Regions from separate parts of the Homo sapiens genome. Here region 2 is linked to region 1. Evidence: promoter capture Hi-C in human tissues and cell types (Jung and others, 2019). All regions are on one chromosome and are shown on one strand. The core of a region is centred on a gene start or on the middle of the fragment in contact, and the rest is flanking DNA. Distances in the headings are between cores, read along the strand shown.

The links. The method cuts DNA at HindIII sites, captures the fragments that hold promoters and counts their contacts. A contact is called where the count stands out against the background at its distance.
Region 2: a contact is called between a fragment that was not itself captured here and the fragment with the promoter of TCL1B in region 1, in 1 of the 25 tissues and cell types used here (lymphoblastoid cells).

The regions. Positions count from the first base shown.
Region 1 is chr14:95,684,535-95,689,310 of GRCh38, forward strand. It overlaps TCL1B (TCL1 family AKT coactivator B), which reads left to right and starts at 1,892. Exons shown (of 4, transcript NM_004918.4): 1 at 1,892-2,095. The coding sequence starts at 1,934. The HindIII fragment of the contact is 12,005 bases long and covers 1-2,120 here.
Region 2 is chr14:95,540,156-95,544,931 of GRCh38, forward strand. GLRX5 (glutaredoxin 5) reads left to right here. Exons shown (of 2, transcript NM_016417.3): 2 at 3,792-4,559. The coding sequence ends at 3,970. Among named protein-coding and RNA genes, the nearest start is that of GLRX5, 7.5 kb to the left of the region's middle. The HindIII fragment of the contact is 4,983 bases long and covers 1-4,776 here.

The DNA of each region.
Region 1 (4,776 bases), core at 642-3,141:
CTTGGCCAAGGCAGTCAACAAGCAGCATGCATGTTAGAGCCAGGAACAGCTGGGTCCATATCCTTCCTCTGCTACCCACTTCATTCAGGTTGCTAAGCCACTCAAGCCTCTGATACTTCATCTATGAAATGGGGGTGACGGTCTCTAGTTTATGGAGTTGTTGGGAGGTGTTAGTGAGATACCCTATGAAAAATGCCTGACATGGCATAGGGGCTCCCCACATATTAGGCAACCTTTACCTCCAACCCCACTGACAGCCACACACCTGCCCATCAGGGAGTGAGGTTGAGAATATCAAAATATATATTTGCAACAGAAAATGATAGAGATAAATAGCAATTGCATTGGGGTTACAAGGGTAGGAATGATGGATTCTGCCTGGGAGAGGGAACTAGTCTGAGAACATAACTATTGACCAGGGTATTTCAAGTATTCACTATGTGTCAGGCTTTAACACTATACACACAGCCTCATCTGATCCTCAGAGGAGTCCCATAGGGTAGGTACCTACAGCAAACAGGCTTCAGGGGGGCCCAGGAGACCAGGGGTCCCCATGATCCCTGCCTCCTGGTATTCATAACCTTGAGTAAGGATAGGACCTACCCCTGACCAATGGAATATGGCAAAGGTGACACACGTACGTGATTCCATGTATGGATCACATTATATGAGACTGTGATGTCCCTTGTCTTCCTGGCCCACTCCATTCCCACCCCAAGTGTTGGTTCCTTGGAAAAACACTGGGGATGGAGGTGGAATTGCTGTGAAAACAAGACTCAGTCCTCCACAGAAGCTGCCCAGGGAGTTCTTCAAAAGTGGTTATCCTACCTGCCATTTACACTGGATCAGGACTGTCCAGAAATCATTTTCACATCTCCCCAGCAGAATGGCATCATCTCAATACTAATCTTCACTTGAACTAGAAGAATCATGCTTGTGGTTTTCAAAAGGAAAAGGTTCCTATTCATGGTGCATTTAGAAGCAGCCCAGGGTGCTTATAGAACGGACCTGCTTCTTGCTATGTTCTTGAGCTTCTGAGGCCTCTTGACAAAGTCGAGCAAGTAAGACGACCAGGCCAAGTGGGCACTCTGGGCCCCATGGCCAAGGATGGGCTGGCCAGGTGGCCACGTGGCCTCCGGTGGCCTTGTTTCTGTGGGCTTTATCTGATCCTGAGCTCAGATGCTGATAGTGCACTGGCTTATTTTCTAAGGAGAGGGAGCTTGATTTGTGCAGGATGCGCCTTCACCAGATACCTCCAGGGGCAAGAGTCCACTGAGGTTACAGCGCCCCCCGCCCCCCATGCCTCTAAGCTCTAAGCTCAGAGAAGGGTCCCTGACACAGAGTCCTGTTAAAGGAATGGCCACAGGGATAGGAGAGACCAGGGTCGTGCATGCCAGCTCAGGATCTGGGGCAGGATGGTTGGCAGGGGGTCGTGGGGAGCAAAGGAGGGGAATCACCTGACAGAAAATTGGGCAGGGGTGCTCAGGGAGGAGGCTGCGGAGGGACTGGGACCAGTGGAAGGGAGGTGGAATAGGTCTTAGGAGCCAAATTCCTTGCAGAGGCCTGGGGTGAAGCCTGGGCAGCTCTATCCCCGGGAGCCGCCCTTTTGCCTCCAGCAGCTGCCGGTCCAGCCACAGCCCCTCCAGGAGACCCAGGCCGGGTTCCTAACTCCGCTGCTCTTTGGCCTCGTCCCTGCCTAGCCCCTGCTGCAGGTTGCTTTTTTCCCCCCTCCTCCTCCTCCCTCCTCCCTCCTCCCTCCTCCCCCTTCCTCCTCCTCCCCCTCCTCCCCCGACTGGCCCCGCCCCCACTGCCGGCCCCGCCCCCACTGCCGGCCCGGGCCCCACCCACGCCGGAGCTGCTCCATTTAAGGAGATTGCGCAGCTGGAAAGCTACACGTGTGAGCCTAGAGGCGGGTCCCGGTTGCAGACTTGCCATGGCCTCCGAAGCTTCTGTGCGTCTAGGGGTGCCCCCTGGCCGTCTGTGGATCCAGAGGCCTGGCATCTACGAAGATGAGGAGGGGAGAACCTGGGTGACTGTGGTCGTGCGGTTCAATCCCTCGCGTAGGGAATGGGCCAGGGCCTCCCAGGGCAGCAGAGTGAGTCCTGGGCACGAGGGGAGGCTGTGGGGAGGGCTGCGCACTGACCCCTGCCCGTGTGGGACCGCGGTGGGGGTCAGAGGGGGCCGTTCTCACCCGCACTGGAAAACTCACTTCTGTGCAGGTCTAGGAGCGCAGCAATGTCCATGCCCAGCCCTGGCCCCAGGAACACCCCCCGTAAAGGGACCACAGGCACAAGCTTATCCACATGAGATAATGTGGTCCTGCGTGGTGAAGCCGAGGCTAAGGTAGCTCAGGGCTTAGTGCCATTCCCAGTGCCTGCTGGGAAGGCCCACAAATGGGGCAGCTATTGAGCTGGGCTTTGTGGGATGAGTAGGAGTTCTCCAGGTCTAGAAAGGAGGCAGGAGTAGTATAAGCAAAAGCATTGCAGCCTGGAGGCACCAGGTGGGCCAACAGGATGAACATGACATTGGTGTCAGATTACTGATCTGCAAAATGAGAATAATATACCTCTGTGGCAAGCTAGTCACAGACATGCTCACATACATGGCTCACCGCCTGAATGGCCTGGGGAAGCATTTGACTGATAACAGATTCTGGAAATTAATTCAGGAGGCTTGGGTGGAGTCCTAGATTCTTTACTTTTCAAAAGCTCCCCAGGTGATAATGATAATGACTCAGGAAACGGCTGTAGATGAGGGCTTTAGATCACAGCCAGTCTTTGAGGGATGAAGTAAATACAGTAGCGTTTCTGGTGTGGGTGGCGGTGGGGAATTGATTCCAGGACCGACTGTGGATGCTCAAGTCCCTGATAGAAAATGACCTGGGTAGTAATTACATATAACCTCAGCGCATCCTCTACTATATTTGAAATCAGATTACTAATAACACCTAATGCTACACCTACACATCACTTCAAGCTCTGCTTTTGGGAACTTTGTGGAATTTCTTTTTTTCCCAAAATATTTTTAATCTGAGGTTAGTCGAATTCATGGGTGCAGTATCCATGGAAATGGGGGGCTGGCTGTACCTTAGTGTAATGTGGTAAAAGCATATCCGGATATTTAAAATGCCATTTAGGGCTGGGCGCGGTGGCTCACGCCTGTAATCCCAGCACTTTGGGAGGCCGAGATGGGCTTATCACGAGATCAGGAGATCGAGACCATCCTAGCCAACATGGGGAAACCCCGTCTCTACTAAAAATACAAAAAATTAGCCGGGCGTGGTGGTGGACGCCTGTAGTCCCAGCTACTCGGGAGGCTGAGGCAGGAGAATGGCGTGAACCCGGGAGGCGAAGCTTGTAGTGAGCCGAGATCGCACCACTGCACTCCAGCCTGGGTGACAGAGTGAGACTCCGTCCCAAAAAAAAAAAAAAAAAATGCCGTTTAGGTCTTCGTAAACAATTCACTGCCTGTTTGTTTGTTTTTTGAGAAAGTCTTGCTCTGTTGCGGCTGGAGTGCACTGGTGTGATGTTGGCTCACTGCAACCTCCACCTCCCAGGCTCAAGTGATTCTCATGCCTCAGCCTCCCGAGTAGCTTGGATTACAGGCGATTTTTTTTTACAGTTAATTTTTTTTGTTATTTTCAGGAGAGACAAAGTTTAATCATGTGGGCCAGGCTGGTTTTGAACTCCTGACCTCAAGTGATCTGCCCACCTTGGCCTCCCAAAGTGCTGGGATTACAGGTGAGCCACCTCGCCCAGCCAGTTCACTGACACTTTAAACAATATAACACATTTCCTAAAAAAAGTTCAAATAGGTTATTTCAAAAAATGTTGGTAGAGAACATGGAAAGGCTTTTCTGTACATACACTAAATAAAGCATGCAAAAATTGTGGAGCAAATATTTTAAGTTTTTCAAAAGCCTGAAAAAGTGTTAATGGAGGGCACTGTAAAATGGTGCAGCCACTATGGAAAACAGGATGAGGATTTCTCAAAGAAAGAATTACGGCATAATCCAGCAATGCCGCTTCTGGATATATACCCACAAGACTCTGAAGCCGGAACTTAAGCATGTATTCATACATCCATGTTCACAGCAGTATCATTCATACTAGCCAAAAGGTGGTGGCAGCCCCAGTGTCCATTGATAGATGAATGGGTAAACAACACAAACCATGAAGTATTCACCCTTAAAAGTCAGACACACGGATGAAACTTGGAGCCATTATACTAAATGAAATATGCCAGTCACGGAAGGACAGATTCTCTTGTATGAGGTACTCAGAGTGGTCTCATTCATAAAGTGGAATGGTAGCTGCCAGGGGCTGGAGGGAGTCGAGGATGGGAAGTTAATGTTAGTAACAGGTACGGAGTCTCAGTTTGGGAAGATAAAAAGTTCTGGAGGTGGATAGTGCCGACGGTTCCACATGTCAATGCACTTAATGCCACCAAACTGTACTCTTAAAAACAGTTGGCCGGGTGCGGTGGCTCACGCCTGTAATCCCAGCACTTTGGGGGGCCGAGGCGGGCGGATCACAAGGTCAGGAGATCGAGACCATCCTGGCTAACACGGTGAAACCCCGTCTCTACTAAAAATACAAAAAAATTAGCCGGGTGCGGTGGCAGGCGTCTGTAGTCCCAGCTACTCGGGGGGCTGAGGCAGGAGAATGGCTTGAACCTGGGAGGCAGAGCTTGCAGTGAGCTGAGATCCAGCCACTGCACTCCAGCCTGGGCGACAGAGCAAGACTCCGTCTCAAACAAAACAAAGCAAAACAAAAA
Region 2 (4,776 bases), core at 1,156-3,655, 140 kb before region 1:
GCTGGGATTACAGGTGTGAGCCACCGCACCTGGCCTGAATGGCGTTTTCATTACTTTAGGGTATACTTAATCACTTTTTCCTGCTTTATTTTCCTATGCTTTTTCTGTTGCCTTTCTCAGAAAAGCATTACTGTGAAGGGTGGGTGGTGGAGCATGTTGGTATGGAGAGAATGTCCACACTGTACCTGGTACTATGCTGGGAGCTCAATTCATTTCATTCCTTAGATATCATGGAATCTTCATAATATGTGAGGCGTAGAGTATATTCCCATTTTACAGATGAGGAAACTGAGGCTAAAAGATTAACAGATTTGTCTGAGGCTACATTTACAGGCTAGCAAACCAGATCTACTGATCCTTAAGCCTGTGCCTTGCCCACTCTGCCCCGTGCCTTGCTTTTCCTCTAGTGAGGGTCTACTGATTTCCGTGCTTTCAGCTCAGATCATCTTATCTCGACTTAACGCCATTCTCTAAATTAGAGAATATGAAGAAATTGTGACTCTCAGAGGTGGTGTAACTTGCCCAAGATCACAGAGTCTAGTAGGTAAGAGACAGAGTTGGAACTCATATCAGATTCTGAAGCTACTGTAGTGAGGTTCTACCAGGAAAAATAAAAAGAAAGAAAACTATGATTATGCTGCTCTCGTAATTTAGTGTCCAAATCAGGAGTAATGCCCAGTGTTCTGAATGTGATGAATTTTGAAAAATACCTTTTGAAAGTTCTGGAAGGGAATTTTAAAGTATCATTTCTGTACTCTTTCTGGGTTGATACTTTGGAATATGAATTTGTTTGTATGGGTTTTTTTGGTGGAGCATTAGATGCGTGTAAACTGACTTTGTAAGATAGCCTCCTAACTCCCAGTTCCTAGTGTTACTCTGCCATATAACTTTGCAGTCAGCATTTTCTGCCCCAGATGGAATCACCACCGTCTATCACATATGAAATAATGATTATCATTAAAATTCATTCTTGGATGTGATTTTCTAATTTTCAGGAGTAGCTCTCTGATTCTGAGTTAATTTCAAGTGATATTTGTAAGAACTACCACTGCATATTGCAGTTTTTGAAAACTAAAGTGTGAGAGAGATTAACCATGTGTAAACAGTTACTTGTGGATCCGCAGGATTCATTTTAATATTCAACTTATGAAGAGTAGTCTTTTATTATTATTAGGAGTTTCTCACTTCACTCTATAGGAAGCAATTGGGTATTTCCTTAAATATTTAAACTGGTAATCAACTTTCTTAAAAATGGAAAAGAGCATAGTCATTAAGAAGGGTGCCAACGTTTGGCCTTGATGCCAGCTGCCTATTACACCTATTCATCTAAAAATTAAAGAAGCAGCTAAGTTTAATTTTGATAAACCGTCAGCTGCTGTCAAGAACAGGCAGGTGGCTCATGAGAAGTTAGTATCACTTGCATGTGGCTGTGTGTGTTGGGTGTTGAGAATGTCTGAAAGCCTGCTTGTTTTGATAATTTTGGTGGTAAGGATTCTGGGGGTCTCCCCTTCTCTCGTAGTCAGGACATATGATCAACAGCAACATAAAGTTTAATCAATGAGGCAAGCCCAATGCTTCGATTGAGTGTGATACTATAAAAGTGATTGATGAAAAGCAATTTTACTTTAAAAACATGTATTTTTTGGGTAAAACATGTAGTTTTGGGTAGTTCTCAGGCAGCAAACATTTCCATTTTTGGTGTGTTTCAGAAATTATAGACATCCATCAAAATAAATCAGTAAAAATTGATTATCATGGAAAGCTTCACACAATATATTATTCATTGAAACAAAACAGGTCGTTCATGCACATAAATGATTCATTTGTATAAAAGGTATTTAAGAAAGTTGAAGATAATGAAAAGAAGCTCACGTTTACTTTAAATATTTCTTAATTCTCGCACCCAGCTCTCAGTCATCATAAAGGTAAAAGTTTTGTAATCGGCATCATTGTAAAAAGTGAGTTTTGATAGACTTTGTATTTGAGGACAGAGTTTGAAGAAAGTAAAAAAACACACAAATTATGCTAGTTGTTTTTGTTGATGGAGCATCAAACATCACCATGATGAACAACTTGAATTCATCAGGGTATTCTACTATGTCTAGATATTTGGCATTATAAAGACATTTTGATGATTAATGGAATTTACCCTTTATTGGCAGCTGCCAAAGAGCTAGCTGTTGTTTCTTTACTAGCACCCAGAGTGGCTGAGAGGTGTCCTTTTGGAGGCCTAGAGCAATGTAACCCTTTCTTAATATGTGAAGTCTGGAGAAGGAAGATAAAGCCCTTGGTTCAGGGGCTTTCTTTAGGGCTGTCATTTAGAGCAAAGTCAGTTTTTTTAATAAGGCAATAACTTTTAAGAAAAAAATAAATAGTATATTGGGACTTGTGATATAACTGAAATCAGTAATTTTATTTGGAAAATGTTTGATAATAAATTATAGGGTATCAAGAGCAAGTTTTTGTATTTTTAGTTTGTTTACATAAAAATCGATTTGTGTAAACTGTACTGGACTTGAACAATCTGTTGACTTTTCCGTTTTGTTTATCCATATGCTCATTTTGGCCATTTAAAAATATCTATCTATGTAAATATAAAAGTGTCACATAAGTGTTAGTTATTATATGCCATGCTTTGACCATCTTCGTTTTTAACATGACCAATACAGGCTTTTTAATGGCCGACTATGTTTTTGAAAGCACAGTCATCTCAACATACAAGTAGAAAAGGAAGTAGACTGATGAAGAGGAATGTTAAGAGTAATCTTTTATGTCTTAAGATTGAAGCCACATTTCTTTCTTACCATTTTGTTACAGTCATCATCCTTGTGGCTCAGAATTGAACAGAGTAGTTGCACAGCTGCGCTGTCACAGAGTGTCCCTCATCTCATGTGTGTCCTCAGAGCCATTTGCACACAGGACTGATCACATGCATGCTGGTTGGTTTCTTGGCTGCTGTGAGCGCTTAAGAGCAGAGCGGGTCTCACTCCCCCACCCCTCAGCCCTGGACAGGGACCTTGCTGAGCTCTGGGCCTTCATTAGACTCACCAGTCACTTCGGGTTCTGCACAGAGCCTCATCATCCACTCCACAGAGAGCCCATCACAGTGGCTGGATAGATGGGAACTGACAACCCATAGCTGTGGGACAGGGATTTTTCCCTGGGTAAAAGTAATTGTTAAAAATTAAAAAAAAAAAAAACTCAACAACTCATCATCTCGAGGAGAAGTGACTGACGGCCTGCACCAACTTAGACAGTCACAGTCATGAAAAGTGCACAGGTGGGATTGCCCGAGTTGGCCATGAATTACCGTGATGGATCCATTTGGAAATGAAGTTGGTTGTGACATTTCTTCAAGTTTTGTTTCGCTTGAAGCTTGACTGGTAGATGGAGAATTTTGGCCTTATGTATCTTATGTGACTTGCATTACCCAGTCCAGTCCTCTGCCATTAATCTAAGGTCCGCAATGTATCAGGTATTTTACTGAGAATCTTGCTTACCTAATTCTCACAAAAAAAAAAACCTTGGGAGATGAGGGTGGAAACAGGATGAGAGGTCAGGTGACTTGTCTGAGGGCTGACGGTTTGTAATTGGAAGAGTCAGGGCCTAACCACTGGTCTCTTTGACACAAAAACTCATGCTCTTAGTGGCAAGCACAGTGTTCTCAAGATTGGGGGAAGCCAGGGAGGGACAGTGGGTTGTCTGCTACTAGTGGGTCAAAATTACATATTTAGTCATGAATGGTTCAGCTTTTACCATTTAAATAACAAATAAATGTTCTTTCTCCATAGGCATTAAAGACTATTCCAACTGGCCCACCATCCCGCAAGTGTACCTCAATGGCGAGTTTGTAGGGGGCTGTGACATTCTTCTGCAGATGCACCAGAATGGGGACTTGGTGGAAGAACTGAAAAAGCTGGGGATCCACTCCGCCCTTTTAGATGAAAAGAAAGACCAAGACTCCAAGTGAGGGCGGCCAAGTCCTCGCTGAGCAGAGAGGGAGCCGTTCATGTCAGAGACTCACTGCCAGAAAAGCCTTACCCATTTTGGTTTTCACTATTGAGACCGCAACTGCTTGCACTGATCATTTTGGTTCGTGAGCAGTTGGTGATTTTAGTTGGTCTGGTGTTCGGGCTAAGAATATTTTATTGTGGACTTAATTACAACCACTGCACTGTAATGATTCAATGCTGTATTATGATATTGCTGTAAACAAAATTCATTCTTATATTGTCACTTATTCTTTGCCTGATTCAGAAGTTAAATAGGAGCTTTGGAATCATTATTCATGACCCCTCTGCAAATGTGTCAGTCTCCAAAGAGAGTATCTCCCCCCAAATTTTGTGTAGCTTCTTTTGTTATGGAAAATGGTGAACAAAAAAAGAAACTGTGATAACTGGGGCGTTGTTTTTTAAAATAAACTCCAGCACAGGGATGCTGTGCATGCCTGAGTTGATTCCGAAGTGCATATGTCTGTAAGGATTTGGAGTGCCTGCAGTGTTTTATGTGTGGGAAGTAAGGGTGAGTCTCATATTCTTCTATTAAATTTGCCACAAGAATTGCCGTCGAGCCCTGGTCTACTTTCTGGGGGAAGCAGCTGTTTGGATGGTGAGTCAACTGTGCAGCTGGAGGCGTGGGTGGGCTGGAGGGAGCAGAGGTGGGTGAGGCCGGAGGAGGCGGCCCCACCTGCCTATCTCTGGAGCCCTGTGCTTGGCACACTGCTACAGTTAGATAGGGAGACATCGTCAACAGTCCACCGAGCTAGGGGATTTAATG